Regions from separate parts of the Homo sapiens genome. Here regions 1, 2, 3, 4 and 5 are each linked to region 6. Evidence: promoter capture Hi-C in 16 types of primary human blood cells and fetal thymus (Javierre and others, 2016). All regions are on one chromosome and are shown on one strand. Each heading gives the region's core, a stretch centred on a gene start or on the middle of the fragment in contact. The rest is flanking DNA. Distances are from core to core; before and after follow the strand shown. Region 1 holds the start of CD83 (CD83 molecule). Region 2 has its middle 23 kb from the start of CD83. Region 3 has its middle 5.0 kb from the start of TBC1D7-LOC100130357. Region 4 overlaps LOC107986571 (a long non-coding RNA gene). Region 5 overlaps PHACTR1 (phosphatase and actin regulator 1). Region 6 holds the start of MYLIP (myosin regulatory light chain interacting protein).

Region 1 (3,282 bases), core at 783-3,282, 2.0 Mb after region 6:
GTATTAATAATGTTTTCTTTATTAAATAGTTACTCTCTGGAAGGGATAGTGGTTTCATGTTTTTCCCCGTTCTTTGAGATAACTAAGTCCCTGCCTGGTTAGCCCAGGGGCACTTTGATTTTCTTTATCTTAAGTTATTAAGGGAGAAAACAGAGATCAAGATAGACCTCTAACAACTCAGGATTTGGAATCAGACTGCTTCGTTCAAATCCCAACTCCACCATTTAGCTAGCTGTGCAAAAGTGGACAAGTTATTTCCCTCCCTAAGGCTCAGTTTCCTCACCTGTAAAGTAGGAATAGTAACAGTACTAATCCCTAAGTCCATTCTTCCGATGGATGGAAATGGATAATGTATGTAAATATTTACCTTGGAGCTTGGCACGTGGTGAGCATTCAAAAATTGTTTTTACAATATTTTTAAAAATACTATTGTTTTGACTATGAGAACAATTTCGGAATTGTTGTGTTCTCTGATCCCACAGTAAGTAAGGTACCAATGAAGTAGGAATATTTAACACCTTACTTTTATACACAATACAATGCTCTGAGGCAGCAGCACCATCCCCGTCATGCATAACTCATGAAGTGCTGGGCTGAATTCACAGAGCACCTTTGCAATTTATAGGGCAAAAATTAGGTGCCGTGAAGAATACACAGAAGTATGGATACAGCCACTGCCCCCCAGGGAACTGACCATCCAGTTAGGAGACACACACACAAAGAGATCACCGCAATGATGCCTTGTACTGTTAAGTGGCCAAAGACGTACAGTTTCTTATAGTATCTTTTATGGTGGGCAGAAGAACGCCCTGCATTTTGGGGAAAGCTACAAGTGCAGAGATTTGCCCCCGTGGTAAGACAGCAAATCAGTGAGAGCTACAGAGTAAGGTTGTAATATCATATTCATTTGGGTTAAAATGGAGGTGCTGTGGTAGCAGTGGCCTGACTTAAAGAAGGACCAGTGATATCAAACAGTAGCTGCTTGGCTTTGGAATGACACCATCATTGCCATCTTAGAATCTGAGAATGTTTCAGTCAAGAGGAAACCTTGAAAAAGCCTCCTTGTCACTCAGTCCACTTACAGTAGGAGCAGCAAGGCCTGTTCTTACACATGCGGGCTCCGGCTCATGCATCCACCTGATGCTCTCAAGGCTGCCAGAGGAAGGAGGAGGAGGGCTAGGGGAGGAAGCCAAGGGTATCCCACAAAGGAGATGACCACTGATAACTACCATGGATGAAATGGCCTAAGTCACTTCTGTGTCTTAGCCTTTCCTTTCAAATTGCCCCCTCCCCCTCCCATGTATCATGGGCATCACAGTCACAAAACACAAGAAATCAGAAGTCTGGAGACATTCCCCCTGTCCAATGCCCAAATCTAGGTCCCTGTTGCTTTCTTCCTGACCTGCTGGCCCACAACCACAGGTGGCCTCCAGAATTAATCCAAATGAGAGTCTCTGCCCTTCCAAAACATCTTAAGTGGATCATTCATCTCAGGCCACCTTCAGTGACAGGAAGGGGATTGAGGTCTGCGGAGAGCAAAACCTAATTCGGCCCTGTACCTGGATGCGGATGGGGTGGGGGAGGCGCGACGGGAGGCTGGGTACTCCAAGTTCAGCTGCGGGAGACGCCCCTCGCCCCCACCTGGCAGCCACAGAGGGTCGCCAGCCTAGGGGAGATGGTTCCTGCTGTCTTCAAATGAGCCCACCAAACCCCAGCCCGTGGGTATCGCAGCACCTACCTTGACCCAGGAGACCGTGTAGGGAACCTGCGGATCCCAGGGGGCGGTGCAGGGCAAGTCCACATCTTCGGAGCAAGCCACCTTCACCTCCGGCGTCGCGGGAGCCAGGCTGTAGGCTACAAGAAAGAGAGAGCGCGTCGTGAGCAAGCGACCGACGGGAGGGGGTGTCGTGGAGGGGCGGGGGGCGACAGGCGAGACAGGCGCTCGCGAGCCCTACCGCAGCTCAGGAGCAGAAGCTGGAGGCCGCGCGACATGGCTGGAGCGCTGCGCCGCTGCCACGAGCTGCAGAGCTGTGGCGCGCGGGCGCCGGCTGCCCTTTTATGCCCGCGCGTTCGGGAACTTCCCTGCGCGCCAGCCCGGGGGATTCCCCGGCGGGCAGCGGAAGCGGGTGGCGCGCCCTCCTAGTCCCGCTTAGGCCGGGGCGCCCCCGTCCCCGCCCCCTTCGCCCCCGTCCCCGCCCCCGTCCCCGCCCCCGTCGCACCCGCCGCCCTCGCCGCGTGCGCGTCCCCGCCCCCGCGCGCCCGGGCCGGGCGCCCCGAGTTCGCGTCGCTGCTGCGGCTGGCAGCGGCGACAGCAATCCCCGCGTGACGCCCAGCGCTGGGGGCTTTGCAGACCGCGCTCGCGCGCGTGACGCTGCCGTTGACCCGCAAAAGGAAGCCGGGAACCGGGCCATCCGAGCGGGATCTGCCCATTTTACGGAGGCCAAACCAGATTCCGAGAGGGTGGGCAACTTCCTCAGAAGCCCAGCCTGTCCTTGGGAACGCACTGGTGAACCCAAGTCCTCACTCTTCTCCAGAATCTGTGATAATCAAAGGCGCGTTAGATTTCCATGGAAACATACAAGTCTGTAGTACTTGGCTCCCTGCCTTCCCCGGGAGGTTATCAGTCAGTACCGTCCTGTTTAAATTATATCACCAAAGGAGAGTGTCTCCTATTAAAATAATAATTACACGCATACACAACATTTTTGGAAAAGAAAATTCTAGAAGACAATGAAATCACCTGTAATTCATCCAGGAAGTAACTTCAGTTAACATTTTTTTATATTATAAAATGTTTATAACATAACATAACGTAAAATATTTATAACATTTGTCAGTGCACAGATTGGTATTTTTAATGGTTTATTCTTCCTGCTATCTTGTAACCTACTTTCTTTTAGCTTAATAATTTGCAAGCGGTTCCACATCATTAAAAACTTCCAACAGCATCATTTTGGTCCATTGTTCAGTTGCACCATAAATTAGAATCGATTAGTGTTAGACATACAGGTTGTTTCTTTTTGTATTACTAATATTAGAAACAATACTGTGATTGCTATGGGAAACTTCAGTGTAGATAAATCTTTGCTCTAAAATTGCTTATTTTCTTAGAATAAATACCTCAAGGAAATTGTGCTAGGTGAAGGGGAGTTTCCAATTTTGTCAAATATTGCCAAAAAATTACCTGCAAGGAGGTGTCTTCAATCTATATTCCCATCTGCAAAGAGAGTGCCTGTTTGCCAACACAAACTGTTATCCAACCTTTCTATCTTTGTCCATCCA
Region 2 (3,332 bases), core at 118-2,617, 2.0 Mb after region 6:
AGGCCTCTGAATTCACAGGCATAACTGTAAATGCAAATTCCCATGTAAAGCTCATGGATGAAAGGAAGGAAATGAGAATTAGGACTCAAGTTCTGTTGGGTGAAATGTAAAACCTGGGTATCTACTCTGATAAGATTAAAGTGAGTAATTGGCAGGTGGACCAGTGGTGAGCTTCAGGGATCAAGAACACAGGGAAGCAAGTTTAGAGGCCAAAAAGGCAGCCACTGGGTGCTAAGCAGGGGAGAACTAGTGATGTTGACTGCCTATGGCCGGGTGAGGGCCGAGGACGAGCCTCCCAATGCTGGGCACAGGTACAGCTGCTGACGTTGACCACTAGGTACAGGAAACCAGGCAGACCTTTACAAAGGCTGGGCAACATCCTGGTGAGCTCCCATGTGGAACCCACAAGAAGCCACGTTTAGTCTCACAACATTTATGGGGAAATTCCCCTGAATTGACGTTTAAGCTTTAATAGAGGAAATCAACATTCTCAGTAAATCTGGTAAAAGGTCTATGGAAACTTTGTTAAATTTCAGCCAGAGACACCCCCAATGGCTGGTCCAGCCAGTGCTGTCCATTATGCAGCTCATTCCATACAAAGTCCTTGTTCTCAAACTTGGCTAAGGCCTCCTATGAGAGAACACCTTCTACACCAGAAGGTATAATTAGATGCCCTATGGTAGCTTTTAGCCCATGTTTTGAAAATCAGCGAGGTGCCTGAGCTGAGGTGGCTGGCGGATGTGCATTGAGGAGATAGGCTGACATGGGGTGTGTTCATTAAGTTATTCAACAAGCATTCATTTACTGGGTATATAGAGTTTCCAAGCCATCATGCTTAACACCGTGGAGCCCAGAGCAATGGATAAAATGGAGCAAGTCCATTTTGCTCCCCATGGAGCATGTCAGAGGCCAGTTGGGGCCAAGTGTGTGTCTGGGAGCAGGAGGGCAATGGCAATCGGGATGCCTGTGAGATTTCCTGCTGTACTTCCTTGGTGGGGCCAGACCAGAGAATGTTGCCTATTGAAAAACATTTCTTTGTAAGGGCTTTGTAAGCAGACATCTCCAGCTGGGAGCAACTGAGGAATTTTTTAATCAGAGCCTTGATCTGCTCTTGCGGCACTGCCTGAGGCTAGCAGTGTCCCTATAACACCAAACTGAATTCTAAAAAGAAAAAAAATCAACTGATTGCTTCCAAATACTGGGATGCTTATGGGGGCATGTGTGTGTGTGTGTGCGTGCGTGTGTGTGTGTGTGCCACCATGCCCGGCAAACTTTTTTTGTATTTTCAGTAGAGACAGGGTTTTGTCACGTGGACCAGGCTGGTCTCAAACTCCTGACCTCAGGTGATCCGCCTGCCTCGGCCTCCCAAAGTGCTGGGATTACAGGCGTGAGCCACCGGACTCAGCCAGGGCTCTGTTGTTATCCCCACATCATGCCCTTCAAGTATGCCATGCTGCCGGATGTCAGGAACCAGGCTCCAAGGGGTGGTGTCTTGGCATGACTTAGACAACCAGAGACAACAACCCCAAAACAGACCTCTGGCCTTTCTCTCCTCCTCCATCTGCCTCCTGCCAGAGAAACCAAAAGAAGAACTTACTTATAAAGGCAGTCATGGGTCTTTTCACTTGTGGCACTGTGATGCCTGGCCACTGTGGGGTTTTGGAAAGGGAAGTAGCACTGACATCATAGAAACCTAGAACTGAAAAAGACCTGAAATGTTCATCTTGTCCAGGCACCTCAGTGAGACAAGACACAGCTCCCTCTCCTTGCAGCTCTCCCTGAAGATGCAGAAATAGTACTCTACCTCCTTCAGTTCTTGCTGCCAGGGCTTTATCTCCCAAAGAGGGAAGATTTTTCTCGCAACTTGAGTTCTCATTTAACTCCAGTCTACTGTCTTTTTTTTTTCAGCCAGGAGGGTCCACTAGTCAGCATTAGGCCCCTCACAAACTTGCAAACTCAAAGATAGTGGTGGAAGTGACTATTAGTCTTTTCATTTCAGGCCAGCTAAACACAATTATCTCCACCTACATTCTTCACTTGGTTCCTGTACTGTGCAGGTTTTGTTGTTGTTGTTTTTTTAATCTATACTGTTTGCAATTTTTCCACTATTTTTTTCAAAAATGTGACTGGGGTACATTGAATTTTTGTTTCCCATTCTTCACTCTCTCTCTGTTACAGAATTCTACACCCGTGACCTTTGCCATGTGACTTTGCAGTGGCTCTCACTAGAATGAGTGCAGTGTTTTTCCTCACCCCATGGAAGCTTGGCTCAGCCACAGGCTTTGCCTTGAATAACAGACGCTAGTGGAAATGATGTAAAAGAGGCTTTAAATGTGCTTGCATGATTTGACTTGGCCTGTTGTATTTCCGCCATCACCGTAAGAAGACTATGCCCCAGGTGGTGCCAGTTCCAGAACAAAATATATAAAGCAGGCCCAAAGTAGACCTGGAGCCTGGAGCCATGCCCAGTGGAGCCCAGCCAAGATCAGCTGAGTCCCTGCCAATCCACAGACCTGTGAATAAAAAAATGAATGTTTGTGGCGTCAGCCAGTGAGACTTGGGGCATTATTTGTTATACATTATTGCGGTAGTTGATGACTAATAAAATTGCCAAAATAAGGTCTGATTTAGACTAGAGATGAATTATTACCCTATCCTTGCATCACACACTCCTCAAACCACCTCTTTTGTGACACCTTCCTTGGTTCCTTTAGCTTCTCTACAACTTGTCCACCCTAAATCCTTCTTTTTGGTGTCCTATATTTGGGCCCCTGATCATAGTCAATAAAACGTTTTCTAGAAGTCAGTCTGACATATTACTCAATACTTGCATGTTTGAAACCTTATCAACAAGACTATAAAGTCATTGAGAACAGGGACCATGCGAGTACAGGATGGATAATAAAATACTCTTATTAGGAACATTCTGTACCGTGATCTCTCATCTTTGGCAGAATAAGGCTTCCAGATGTTAGCTGGAAACACATCACCATTGCATTCATGGAATTAGCATAAGGCTATGCACACAGTAGACATAAGACGCATTCGAATATTTATGGAGTGTCCATTGGAGAAGCAAAAGTAACTGAGTTGTCAATCAAATAAATATTTCTGATCTATTAATACTCAATGTCATATGCCTTATCTTTTTTGATAAAGATAATATTCAAATTCTCAATTCCATAGATATTGAATATAAGCATTTCTCTTTCCCAGCCAAAATACATCAATAGAAATAAGTGAGAGATAGTGAAGCCACCTATTTAAAAGGCCTGTGAATCGCTTCTCAGCCTTTGGCGAAGATTAAGTTTAAAAGGACTATGAAGCAAAAC
Region 3 (3,446 bases), core at 947-3,446, 2.8 Mb after region 6:
CACTCCTGCCTCCAAGCCTCTCCCTTTTACAGGTCATGGAAATCCATTGTTCAAAGGCTCTCTCTGCTCTGAGTCATCTCTCCACAGCCCATGCTTGGCCCACGCTCCTTGGGCCTCCTGCAACCCACCCTGCCAGCTCCAAGCCTTATCTCTCATGACCCCAACACAGCTGCCAGGCTGGCTCCCATCATCCACATACACATTGTCATTTCCTGCCTTTGCGTTTTAGTGATTGCTCTTTCTTGTGTTGAAAAGGCACTCTTTTCTATAAAAATTATTCACTGCACAGCTCAAATGCTATTTCCTATATAGTGCCTTCTCTAAACACTCCAGGGAGTACCTTAACTTCTATGACATTTCTTGTGTCTTACCTGGGTTGCGCTTATCAAATGCATTGTTACTTGGGCATATTTCTTCTTAAAATTTTTTCTACTATCATATGACCCAGCAATCCACTACTGGGTATATATCCACAGAAATGGAAACCAGTATGCTGAAGAGCTGTCTGCACTCCTATCTCCATTGCAGCATTAATTACAATAGCCAATGCATGAAACAACTCAAGTGTACAGCAAGAGATTAATGGATAAACATCTACTGTCAGTTGGTGGAGGCACAATCCCAACCACTGTTTAGGAATGAAGTTTTCCTAAGCTCACAGTGTGAGAAATATCCCAATCATGGGTATATTCATGGGTAAAGAAAATGTGGTACATATATGTACAGCCTTTAAAAAGAAGGAAATCCTGCCATTTGCAGTAACATGGATAAACCTGGAGGACTTATTATGTTGAGTGAAATAAGCCAGGCCCAGAAAGAGAAATATTGCATGATCTCATTTATATGTGGAATCTCAAAACATTGAACTAATAGAAGCAGTGAGCAGAATGGAGGTTATTAGGGGCTGGGGTGGGTAGGTGTTAGAGAGATGTTGGTCAAAGGGTAAAAAATTTTAGACAGCAGGAATAAGTTTAAGAGTTCTATTGTCCATAATGGTGACTAAAGTTAATAACAATGTATTGTGTTCCTGAATTTAATGTAATACTTTTAAAAACTTAAATGAAATAGAAACATTTCTTCAGAGACCTAAACTACCAAATCTTTTTTTTTTTTTTTTTTTTTTTGAGATGGAGTTTTGCTCTCGTCGCCCAGGCTGGAGGGCAATGGTGCCATCTCAGCTCACTGCAACCTCCGTCTCCCGGGTTCAAGCAATTCTCCCACCTCAGCCTCCTGAGTAGCTGGGATTACAGGCAACTGCCACCATGCCTGGCTAACTTTTTAAATTTTTAGTATAGACGGGGTTTCACCATGTTGGCCAGGCTGGTCTCGAACTCCTGATCTCAAGTGATCCAACAACCTCGGCCTCCCAAAATGCTAGGATTACAAGCGTGAGCCACCGCGCCCAGCCCTAAACTACCAAATCTTAATAAAGAAGAAACAGATCTCCTGAATAGCCTCTATCTATTGAAGAAATTGCATGTAAAGTTTAAAACCTTCTCACAAAGAAAACTCTAGACCCAGATAGTTTCATTGGTGTATTCTACCAAACATTCAAGGAAGAGACAATACCAATCTATACATACCGTTCCACAATACAGAAGAGAAGGGAATACGGAAACTGTTCACTTTCTACCAGTTCCATCGCCCTCCTTCTCCTCTTGCCTCCACCTCCATGATTGGGAGTTCCTGTGCATGTGTACAGGTACCCCAGACCGCAGGCCCATGCTTCAGGCACAGCCCCTGCAAACAACCACCACACCCCCAGGGCCAAGGGGTGAGCCCACCAGTGGCTTTGAAAATGGGAAGCTTACCTGGTGCTGTTCCATTCTTCCAAAGCTCAACACCCCACAAGAATCCACCTGCTCTCGGTTACACTAAAACACCTGCAAGTACTTGTTTTTTATATTTCGTCCAGATTTGATCATTGTTATCTTTAGAAGAGTGACCTGTTTTTTGCATCACAGAATCTAACTTGGTTGTGAGATGCCCTTGTCACCAGCCTGGTTGTTCTATTCCCAAGATGGCACACAACAGAAATACATATTGCTTCTCAAGGTAAACCCCTCACCTTTGAGAAGTGTGTGTTTTGCTGGCTATTTCTGAGATCTGTAGCTTTGGACCTCTCTCTCGTTCTCTGCCTTTTCCTACACGTGCCCTGCTTGGTTTCCACTGCTTTTGGAAACTTCTCCACCTACTTGACATATTATTTTCTAGTTTCACTGAAAATAGAGTTTGCTTTTCTACCCCGCTGACTGTACCTACTGTTTTGACACTAGAACTATCAAAGATTCATGCAAAAGAGAAGACAGGGCCGAGGTCAGACAAGTATCAGTGGTTAACGGAATCATTATTTGTTAAATGACCCCATACGCACTAGGAAACCTATGGCTGTAGCCAGAGGTTTCTATATACCAGGACAGTATTGGAAGTCTATAATCACATGTACGTAAGACATATGCCACCCGTTTTGACAGGTGAACCAATGTCTCCTCTCTGTAACAGCATATTTCTGGGGTACAGTTATGCATGCTCAGGAAGGGCCATGAAAACACACCACTGTGTTAAGTGATACAGGTATAAGCTTGGGTTTACTAGAGGAAAAACATACAAGCAGAAAGTAGTAGAGTGCATGCCATCCCTGGAATCGAATTATCCCTCAGCTTAGACCAGGCATAGAGGTTTACATGCGCTGTGACCAACATTCCAATAAAGACTGATCTCCATGCCCTTAATATTGTAAATATTTACAGTGATGAGGTGGTTCTGCCTATCTGACTGAGTTAACACAGACCTGCTGAGCCAGTTTTCTGCCAAATTACCACAATGAAGAAGAAATGAGTGTCCAGGACCATCCAGGTTTGTCTCTCTTCAGATGTTTTGGAGATGTGGTTTGACCCATGAACTATCTGAATGTATATGTTCACCAATTATGCTGTGATGGGATTTTTACTACATTCACTTTAATGGCTTCTCAACATGAAGACAGTTGTCCTACAGCCATAACCTCACTCCATCTCCATTTCCTTATCTCTAGAAAACGAGGCGCAAGGATTGAGGCCAGTGGTATGTGACAATTACTATTCTGCCAAAGTAAATTTAGAAGCTGAAAGATAGGATGCCACTTCTGAAGATATGCGGCTGTTTTTATGCCCTGAAGCTTAGCTCTCCGCACCACACTTCATGGGACTCGCTGACCTTTAAGTCCCTTTCAACCTTGAGATTTGATTCTGTAACTAGCAGTACGGTGCATTTTTTAAAAAATAATTTAGCAAAAAAGGCTAACCACTAGAGGGCAGAAATATTACAAGAAAGGAGTGATGCCTGTTACAGTGAAGTACACCTGTGAGTTTTACAAGTCTTATTTCAATTAAATTCCACAAAATTTTATTGCCTGACAACTCCATTCTATAATCTGTGTTATGCTAAGAGTCCAGTGACTAATAATG
Region 4 (3,387 bases), core at 134-2,633, 2.3 Mb after region 6:
AAACTCTTGGGCTCAAGTGATTCTCCCACCTCAGCCCCCTGAGTAGCTAGGACTATAAGCATTCACCACCATGTCTGGCTTTCTTTTTTTTTTTTTTTTTTTTTTTTTTGTAGAGGTGGGGTCTCACTATGTTTCCTAGGCTAGTCTTGAATTCCTGACCTCAAGCCATCCTCCCACCTCAGCCTCCCAAAGTATTGGGATTACAGGCATGAGCCTCTGTGCCCAACCTATATCTCTTTGTACAGTATCTTTATGGGTTGCTCTAGGGATTACAGTAGACATATTTAACTTTTTCTAACTCTACTTAGAATCAGTATTTTACCACTGTAAGTGCAATATGAAAACTTCACTACCATATAGGTCTCTTTATCCTTGCCCTTTTATTTTGTAGTTATTATATACCACATCTATAAACATTAAAAACTTCACCATTGTTTGAATTTTTGCTTTCTATCATTTAACATATTTTAAAGAACTAAAGAGGAGAAGAATATTATACTTATCTTGGTATTTGCCATTTCTGTTGCTCTTCCTTTATTCCTAATGCTCCAAGTTTCCTTTTGGTATCATTTCCCTACTATATGGTGAATTTCCTTTAGCAATTCTTTTAGTGCAAGCTTACTAAAAACAACTCCTCTTAGTTTTCCTTCATCTGAGGATGTCTTTATTTCATCACTTCATTACTGAAGGATATTTTTGCTAGTAATAGAACTATGGGTTGACAGTTCAAGCTAGGGGAGCTCATACATTGGAAAAAATACTAAACTAAACATCAGTTCAGTGGTACTTTGATTTTTGTCTTCTTCACTGATGTGCCTGCTATTATTTACTTTTCAGAGTCCTCAAATAGTGGCTCTATGCATTCTGTCCAGCTTTTATGCCTGCATTCAGGTGGAAAGACAGGGTGGAGTGTGCTTATTCCATTTTACCCAGAAGGAGAATCCTTTCTTCACCCTTTAACACTCTTCAATTACGGAGAATAGTAGTTTGATTAGTGGAAGTTGACATTCCCCCATCAGTGTTTACTAGTAAGAGTATCAGTATGCTAAAGGTCACATCCAGGAATGTTCCAACTCCTTTGTTCTCTCTTTGACCTGCTTGCACCGGGGACAATGAGCCCTTGACCTTTCTGTTACTACCTGCTAAAACAGACCCAGTAGATCTTTCAGGGATAGCTCTGGCCATCTTCCATCTCTTTTCTCCTGATGACACCTAGAATATATAAGGCCACCTAAACTTCTCACAGATGGTGGCTAAGTCAGAGTCTGCTCTGTGAATCCAGCTTTACTCATGGGAGGTCCCTAAGTCTAGATACAGAGAGAGAGTAAGATGGCCCCACTTTGGCCCCAGATCCAAGTATATTCACCAATCCAACTTTGTCATAAAGTCCAACTTTGTCATGGTTCACATGGGGGTTGTCTGGCTCCTGCCTGATCCATTAATTAGTTGATACTTCTTCTTCTTCATTGGCCATTAGATTCCTGTATCTAGTCTCTCTATACATAGACAGAAGTCTAACATGTCTAGATTATCCTAATGTACACTAATGTATCCGGGATAGGAATCAGAAGCCCTATCCCAGCTGGTTTAAGTAAAAGCAACTTATTGGATTACATAAATAAAATGCCAATTTCAGCCTAAGCTAGAATCAGACGCTCAAAAGGACCCGTCTCTTCATTTCTCAGTCTTCTTTTCTTCATAAGGGCTTTAGTCTTAGGCCACATGGTAGCCCCAGGAGCTCATGGTTCAAATCATCCTATACCTAGACATCACAATAAAATAAGACGACCTCTTCCCAATAGTTCCTATTAAGAACCCTAGAATTGGGCCAGGCGTGGTGGCTCACACGTGTAATCCCAGCAATTTGGGAGGCTGAGGCAGGCAGGTCACTTGAGGTCAGGAGTTTGAGACTAGCCTGGCCAACATGGTGAAACCCCGTCTCTACTAAAAAATACAAAAATTAGCTGGGCATGGTGGTGCTTGCTTGTAATCCCAGTTACGTGGGAGGCTGAGACAGGAGAATCGCTTGAACCCAGGAGGTGGAGGTTGCAATGAGCCAAGATTGAGCCACCACACTCCAGCCTGGGCAACAGAGTGAGACTCCATCTCAAATAAACAAACAAAAAAAGAATCCTAGAATTGAAGCTTTTTTTTTTTAGATGGAATTTCACTCTTGTTGCCCAGGCTGGAGTGCAATGGTGCAATCTCAGCTCACCGCAACCTCCACCTCCTGGGTTCAAGCAGTCCTCCTGTCTCAGCCTCCCAAGTAGCGGGGATTACAGGCATGTGCCACCACACCCAGCTAATTTTGTATTTTTAGTAGAGACGGGGTTTCTCTAGACTGGTCTCCAACTCCCGACCTCAAGTGATCCGCCCTCCTTGGCCTCCCAAAGTGCTGGGATTACAGGCGTGAGCCACCGCGCCCGGCTGCTCATTAACTCTGATTGGGTGACATGCCCATGCCTGTGGTCTGCAGAGCGATCAGTCTCTCCAAACCGCATGGACTGAGAGCAGAGAAGAGCCACTGCCCATGGAAAACTAGGGTGCTGAGACCAAAAGAAAGGGAATGCTTTGGAAAATAAAACAACAGGTGTCACATCCAAGGAAAAGTGGATGCTATCCAACCTGTAGTTAGAACTGACATTCATTATACTCCTATCATAGGCCAGGCACTGTGCTAAGTGCTTTACATATGTTATTGTATTCAATATGGCTGGTAATAGTAATACATGAAAAGTTAGTCAACATCATTAGGCATCAGGGAAATGTTATGTTAAAAATCACAATAAGGTACCATTTTATGAGGACTGAAAATATCAAAATTTGGCAAGGATGTGGAACAACCGAAACGCTCATCTATTGCTAAGAGTGTGAAAGGGTGCAGTCGCTTTGGAAAAACAATTCAGCAGTGTCTAAAGTTAAGCTACCATATGATTCAGCAATTTGACCCAGATACTTTCCCCAACAGGGATAAAAATTATGTCCACACAAGGTCTTATACAAGAATGTTCATAACGCCCTATGCATAATAGCCAAAAACTATAAGCAAAGCAAATGGCCATTAATAGAATGGATGACCGCTTGTGGTATGGTCATACAATGGAATACTATTCAACAATTAAAAGCAACTAATTACTGATACAACAGCATGGATGAATCTCATTGATATTGAAGTCAGACGCAAAGCAGAAGAAAGACACAAGGCAATGCATATTGTAGGTCTCCATTTACATGAAGTTCAAAAAAAGACAAAACTAATCTATGGTCATTGAAATTTGAAAATAGTTGGCCGGGCGCGGTGGCTCACGCCTGTAATCCTAGCACGTTGGGAGGCCGAGGCGGGCAGATCACAAGGTGAGGAGTTCGAGACCAGCTTGGCCAATATGG
Region 5 (3,159 bases), core at 193-2,692, 2.9 Mb after region 6:
CTTAGTGTGGTTTCAGTGGAAATTCCCGGCAAACTCACACTGCGGTTGCATGTGATTTACTGGGCACGGGGCGGGGCGGGGCGGGGGGGCCGGGGGAGGCAAGGAGTCAGTCTGTACAACATAGCATTTCTAGAAAACTCTGCATAGTATATATCTTTCTCTTCTGGAGAGAAATTAGAAGTGTGTTGTGGGGTAGGGGGAACAGGGTCATGAATTAAGCCAGAAATATTTGTTCACTATCTTGAGGCCAGTGTTGGCGAGAATGGTAGCAATGAATGAATAGAATGGTTTGATATTTAAGTTATTTAATATCTACCACTAAACTGACGCATACTGCTGTCCATCAAATGCTTGATCTCTTTTAGTATTTTGTATCCTGTTTTCTCTTTTTTTTTTTAAAGCACCAAGTGGATCCTCTGTACATATTCAAATGTCTCTGTGTCCTAAACCAAACAAGGGGCTCATTTATTTTTTTCTGTCTGCAGCAATGGTGAAAGGCAGTTTTCCTCGAATGAGAGCATCAGACAGGCATGCCCGGGACCAGCTGTGGGAATCCTGAGAGACAGACATGAAGCACTTCACTTGGAAATGCTTTCTTAGTCTTTCAATTTAACATTCAAAGGGATGAGGGATTTTTATCAACAGCAGCCAGCTGCAATGCAAAGTCATGCTTTCTAGTCTCAGTTCAAATGGACATTTCCCTTATTTTAGCCGTGCATATCACAGTCTCCATTTTCAAGCCAATTCTGGTTTAAAGGTGACCCTGCTCTTAAAAATCATTAAATAATAAGTGGTCTCACTCTAATTTTTCAGCTTCTCTCTGACTTTACAACTCACTAAAAGGAAGGTTCTGCCTGCCGCCCGTGAGCTTCTAAAGAATAAAGTGGAATAAAATTTGCCTTCTCTTTGGGGAGGTCGTCTTTGGTGTTCTAACATGCACACATGAAGCTTCAACCGTTAGAAAGGTTTTCAATGCTTTCCGCAGAGGCGCAAGGTAGAAACCTTGTGGCCTACCATTAAATAATAACAAAAGCCGCCACAAAACATCAGGGATTGCCATGGGCTTAGTCACTTACGTTTCAAAATGTTCCTCTGTTCCAGTTCCTCTGCAGTTGGCCTCTGGCTCAGCCGCCTACGGAAAAAATCCAGGAAAAGTTTTTGGACCATATCATAGCCTCCTTGGGTCATTAATTTCCTCGGCCCTTGCAGATACATGAGACAGTCAGTGGCTGGAGTTCTTGTTCCATCCTGTGCTCTGAAAGACTGACTCTCGCCACCACCGCCTCCTCAGTTCCTCAATTTCAAGCCCAGGAGAGGCACGTGCGTCATGTCACAGCCGCTGACCCCCGCCCTCCTCCCTGCAGCGGCCCCTCCCCAGCCCCATCTCCTCCAGTGGCCCCAGGCAAGTGGACTGCAACTCAGACGGGACTCTTTTCTTCACAGAAGTCCTTTTCTTTCCTTGTGGCCTCCTAACTTGGGGACTGTGGCCTCTTGCCTCTCTCTCCCTCCCTTGAGGCTAAAGCCTGTCTCCTGCCTCTTCTGTGCAGACCCAGTTAGAACATAAAGAGGTCTGTGGCCCCGGGGACATGTGAGAGAATGTGTCTGTCTGCAGAGAACAATGGCTGCTCTTCTTCTGGTCCTGCTCCTCTTATTTCGGAGGCTTAGAAGACATGAGTGGCAAAGGCACAGAAATGATACTTCTGTGGCCAGGCGTGAAATTTAGCCACCGTACATGAAACATCATAGCCAGGGCATGAGCCTGCAATGACGCAATGGGTGGAGGCGGGACAGGCAGTGGATGGCACGTAGTGACAGAAGTAGCCAGGGAACGGGCATGGCATCTGAGGGGAGAATGCCTGCATTAGGTCCCAGGAATGACTGACACGGACTCAGGAGCCTGAGCAGGAACAGAGACATCTGTACCTTTGAAGCTTTTGGTAATTATTTAACAACCTGCAATTATCCGGCATTCCACTTCACCCATTGGGATGAGGTGTGTGAGAAACTGAATCATTGTAGAAGAAATTTTAGGCTTCTCAGACTCCTCTATTGGGATCTAAGGGGTAGAAATGATGCTCTCCTAGTTGAGGAAGTTGCAGTCCCTCCTTGGGTATTAGAAACTGGTGTCTATAGTCGGCAAGATGTTCACATCTTGAAATCTAAAGAGAGATCCTAGAGTGAAAATATCAAGTCAATGAAGTCTCCAAACCTAACTACAGTTGGTCCTCTGTGTCCATGAGTTCCACATTCTTCGGTTCTACCAACTGCTGACGGAAAATATTAAAAAAAAAAACAAACAAAAAACAATAGTCTAAAATTATTGATATAGCATTTATCTTGTATTAGATATAAGTAATTTAGAGATGATTTAAAGGATATGGGAGGATACACATAGTTTTTTGCAAATACTACGCCATTTTATACAAGGGACTTGAGCTTCCTTGGATTTTGGTATCCAAGGGAGTCCTGGAATCAATCTCCCAGAAAGGACTATATTTTTAATTCAAAGCTTGTTGTCATTTGTGTTTTTGTTTATTGTGCTGGGCCAGAATCAATTGCTTCTGTGACATTCCCGTGTCACCACCACACATCCTATATAGGGAATGGGCTTCAATGTCTCATATAGTTTGGATATTTGTCGCTGCCCAAATCTCATGTTGAATGGTAATCCCCATTGCTCGGGGGGAGGCCTGGTGCAAGGTGCTTGGATGGGGAGCCCTCATGGCTTGGTCCTAGCTTCTTGACAGTGAGTTCTTGCAAGATCTGGTCATTTAAAACTTTGTGGCGAAACCCCGTCTCTATTAAAAATACAAAAATTAGCCGGGCATGGTGGCACATGCCTGTAATCCTAGCTACTTGGGAGGCTGAGGCAGGAGAATCGCTTGAACCTGGGAGGTGGAGGTTGCAGTGAGCCGACATTGCGCCACTGCACTCCAGCCTGGGTGACAAAGTGAGACTGTCTCAAAAAAAAAAAAAGAAAAAAAAAAAGCATGTGGCAACTCCCTGCTCACTCTCTCTCTCTCTCTTGCTCCTGCTTTTGCCATGTGATGTGCCTTCTTCTCCTTCACCTTCCTCCATGATTGGAAGTTTCCTGAGGCCTCCCTAGAAGTCAAGCAAATGCCAGGGCCATGCTGCCTGTATAGCCTGCAGAACCATGAG
Region 6 (3,305 bases), core at 69-2,568:
CAATGATACCAAACCACGAGCTCTAGTATGGAGGCTCATAATTCCTTTTAACGTCTAGGGCATGACCAATTGCAATAGAGAAAAAAGGAGTCCTCAAAAGTAGCCTTCCAAAAGATGAGGAGGGGAAACTACAGGGTATTTTCCTTCGTATTCCAATCACCGGAATTCCCTCCACCAGCATACTCTGCACAGCTGATTTTTGGCGACTTATTATCTGGGCAATTTTAACCATTTGGACTCCAAAAATCAAACACATTGAGGGAACACGCCACAAGTGTCAGCTAAGCTTCACAAGCGGTTTTCCAAACATCTCAGAGCTAGAGGGGTTGAGGGCACAGCGTTTTCCTGGGATCACATGTGCTGTCTGCCATACCACCTCTGCACTATTTGGCACCGATCTCCCTCACTGTTAAGGAAACACATGCTTAAAAACAACCGAGCAGTAGATGACCCAAACCTATTCCTCCCGTCCCCCGCAAACCCGGAGATGCAGGTGAACGGTGCATTTGAGAGCAGCAGCCTGAGAAGCAGCGTGAGACAAGGGCCCGGCTTGTCTGCCAAGAACCCCTGGGGCCCGAGACTGCTTCGAGCCACTCCATCCCATCCTGGCACGCGGGTGGCACTGCCAGGCGCCGCGGGGACCCGACAGGCGGCATCACGCACATACCTGCGGCAGGTGTGCGGAGCCGCCTTCTTCCGGGAAAGTGCTGGGTTGGGGGGATGATGGGGCGCTGGGGGGTGGATCCCGGCTGCGGGCTGCGCCCGGCCCTCAGCGCTGGGGACCCCCGCTGCGCGCTTTCTCCGCGCACCCCACGCGCGCCAGGAGGAGACCGCGCGCCCCACGCCCGTGGAGAGGAGGGGACGCGCTCCCCCCGGCTGCCGCCGCAGTGCCTCCCGGCCCCTAGTAGGGGGCGCGCCAGAGTGCCAGGCGTCGCTGCGAGGCCCCTCGGCCTCGCGGGACCCGCCGGGGCCCCTTCTTGCCCCTCGCCCTCACCTGGTTGAGGCAGTCCTCGCCGTTGGCTTTCGCCTCCACCTCCACCTCCATCAGCACCGCGTCCGGCCTCGTCACATAACACAGCATGGCTGGGGCTGCCGCTGCCGCCACAGCCGCCTTCTCTTTGGTGTGCGCGGGGCTGCCGCCTTGTCACTGGTGGGACCCAGCCCCGGACTCGGAGAGGGCTGGCCCTCGAAGGCTGCAGCTCTGCGGACCCTTGTCCGGGGCCCCGCGGCCGCCACTCGCGTCCCCGCCACCCCCTCACCCGCTGCCCGCCAGCTGCCCCTGTCCTCCGCGGTGGCGCCGCACTCCAGCAGCCCAACTGCCTGCGCTGCGACAGGGACTCTGCTGATATAGCGGCCCCGCCCCCTTCAGCTCGGGTCCCCGCCAATCACGGCCTCCCTGCCCCTCCTCCCCCGCCCGATCAGCCAATAGCGGCGCCCCTCGACCGCGGCCCCCGCCTCCCAGAGCCGGCTGAGTTTCCCTGGCCGCCCCGGGAGGTGGCAGCTTGCGGGCGCCGAGTGCTGCGGGAAGGGAGGGAGACCCCGGAACACACCAGCCGCCTCTGTCCGCTGGGCGACGCTGCTCAGAGTGAGCGATCGCCCGGGGCTCCAGGCGGGGACGCCTTTCTGCCGTCTCGAATTTACGGTGATTAAACACCTCCAAGCTGCCACTGTTCTTCAAATATCTTGGATCACTCTGAGCACGCATTTCGGTTGTGAAAGCAAAAAGGAAAAGGAGCAACCCAAAGCCTAAAGAAAACTGTTCTCGTCCGGGCATGGTGGCTCACGCCTGTAATCCCAGCACTTTGGGAGGCCGAGATGGGTGGATCACCTGAGGTCAGATTCGAGACCAGCCTGGCAAACATGGTGAAACCCCCGTCTCTACTAAAAATACAAAAAAAAAAACAAAATAGCCAGGCGTGGTGGCGGGCACCTGTAATCCCAGCTACCTGGGAGGCTGAGGCAGGAGAATCGCTTGAACCCAGGAGGCGGAGGTTGCAGTGAGCTGAGATTGTGTCACTGCACTGTAGCTTGGGCAAGAAGAGCAAAAAACCCTGTCTCAAAAAAAAAAAAAAAAAAAAAAAAAAAAAGAAAAGAAAAAGAAAAAAGAAAAAAAAAAGAGAAAAAGAAAACTCTTTTCCACCAGGATTAGCCACAGTGGGTTGCTTGGAGGCAGAATTGTTGTTCCTTATTAAGACCTCATCATTGAGAAAAACAAAATCTGAGTATGAAAGTTTTTGCAGCTGACCAGTGAGCCAGGTGTCTTGGTCTAGTGCTGGTGTGTTACACTCCGGAAGGGCTTCTCCTTACTCGTTCTGCTGAATCAAAACGCCTTACAGGGTACCAGGCCCTCTCTCAGGTTGCTCATTCTACCTCCTGTCTTATCTCACTCATTCATTAAACATTTGTGCAGCACCTGATACCCTGCCTGTCCCTTCTCACAGGCAACCAGATGTTGTCCTCGTCTTAAGGTAAGGTGCTCATCTCCTGACCTAACAGGTGGCATTACTGCAATATTAGCTATTAAAGGTCTACAACCCTTCACTCATTTACCGCTTGTTCCTCTTTGCCAATATATTACATAGCCTACCTTTTTGATTTCTTTATAGGAGCCAGATGATGTGGGTTTCAGCCGTGGAAACTTAGCAAACTTACTTCAGGCCAGCTCGATGGCTCACACCTGTAATCCCAGCACTTTTGGAGGCCGAGGCAGGAGGATCGCCTGAGCCCAGCAGTTTGAGACCAGCCCGGTTTCGCAACACAGCGAAACCCCATCTCTACACAAAATACAAAAAATTAGCCAGGCGTGGTGGCGCCTGCCTGTAGTCTCAGCTACATGGGAGGCTGAGGTGGGAGGATCACTTGAGCCTGGGAGTTCGAGGCTGCAGTGTGCTGTGATCCCCCTACTGCACTCCAGCCTAGGCGACAGAGCAAAAGACCCTGTCTCTAAACAACAACAACAACAAAAAGAAAACAACGAAAGAAAAAAAAAGAGAAAACTTACTTCATCTGTCTGAAGCTTGGTGTTGTCAACAGTAAAATGGAGATGGCAATATCTGCTCTGTCTCCACCCAGCATTGTTGGGAAGCGCAGCAAAGATAATAACGTTCACAAAAGCATTTGAATGTCCCCGTGTATGTAAGGGGAGCTATAAGTTCAGTGCCTTCACTGCTTAATGATGACTTTTCCTGTCCCTACCCCCCTTCACGAGTCCCAAGGATCTGTTAGTGGCCTTTATTTCCGAACAACCAGGTACGATATCAGAGCCCAAGGCTAAAAAAAAAGGAGGGATCCTCCCACACACAGTT

What was found. The method cuts DNA at HindIII sites, captures the fragments that hold promoters and counts their contacts. A CHiCAGO score of 5 or more calls a contact.
Region 1: a contact is called between the fragment with the promoter of CD83 here and the fragment with the promoter of MYLIP in region 6, in 1 of 17 cell types (fetal thymus). The highest score is 10.5, in fetal thymus.
Region 2: a fragment that was not itself captured here is called in contact with the fragment with the promoter of MYLIP in region 6 in 1 of 17 cell types (naive B cells); the score reaches 6.0 in naive B cells.
Region 3: a contact is called between a fragment that was not itself captured here and the fragment with the promoter of MYLIP in region 6, in 1 of 17 cell types (fetal thymus). The highest score is 6.6, in fetal thymus.
Region 4: a contact is called between a fragment that was not itself captured here and the fragment with the promoter of MYLIP in region 6, in 1 of 17 cell types (fetal thymus). The highest score is 7.6, in fetal thymus.
Region 5: a contact is called between a fragment that was not itself captured here and the fragment with the promoter of MYLIP in region 6, in 1 of 17 cell types (total B cells). The highest score is 6.2, in total B cells.

What each region holds. Positions count from the first base shown.
Region 1 is chr6:14,116,522-14,119,803 of GRCh38, reverse strand. CD83 (CD83 molecule) reads right to left here and starts at 2,032. Exons shown (of 5, transcript NM_004233.4): 1 at 1,956-2,032; 2 at 1,739-1,854. The coding sequence starts at 1,992. RefSeq lists cis regulatory regions at 735-1,235, 703-1,529, 1,100-1,600, 1,766-2,421, 1,605-2,421 and 1 more and silencers at 2,165-2,284, 2,412-2,706. The HindIII fragment of the contact is 8,136 bases long and covers 1-3,282 here.
Region 2 is chr6:14,092,640-14,095,971 of GRCh38, reverse strand. No RefSeq gene overlaps it. Among named protein-coding and RNA genes, the nearest start is that of CD83, 23 kb to the left of the region's middle. RefSeq lists enhancers at 485-614, 1,508-1,637 and a cis regulatory region at 136-636. The HindIII fragment of the contact is 1,797 bases long and covers 469-2,265 here.
Region 3 is chr6:13,331,813-13,335,258 of GRCh38, reverse strand. No RefSeq gene overlaps it. Among named protein-coding and RNA genes, the nearest start is that of TBC1D7-LOC100130357, 5.0 kb to the right of the region's middle. The HindIII fragment of the contact is 775 bases long and covers 1,809-2,583 here.
Region 4 is chr6:13,816,215-13,819,601 of GRCh38, reverse strand. The region is part of intron 1 of LOC107986571 (a long non-coding RNA gene); the gene reads right to left. Among named protein-coding and RNA genes, the nearest start is that of MCUR1, 3.4 kb to the right of the region's middle. The HindIII fragment of the contact is 1,528 bases long and covers 620-2,147 here.
Region 5 is chr6:13,270,833-13,273,991 of GRCh38, reverse strand. It overlaps PHACTR1 (phosphatase and actin regulator 1), which reads right to left. Exons shown (of 15, transcript NM_030948.6): 11 at 1,077-1,132. All of the region lies in intron 8 of TBC1D7-LOC100130357 (TBC1D7-LOC100130357 readthrough), which reads left to right. It also overlaps a transcript of LOC100130357 not described here. Among named protein-coding and RNA genes, the nearest start is that of TBC1D7, 56 kb to the left of the region's middle. RefSeq lists enhancers at 1-701, 1,413-1,512. The HindIII fragment of the contact is 983 bases long and covers 951-1,933 here.
Region 6 is chr6:16,127,099-16,130,403 of GRCh38, reverse strand. MYLIP (myosin regulatory light chain interacting protein) reads right to left here and starts at 1,318. Exons shown (of 7, transcript NM_013262.4): 1 at 995-1,318. The coding sequence starts at 1,081. RefSeq lists a silencer at 637-1,636. The HindIII fragment of the contact is 2,730 bases long and covers 289-3,018 here.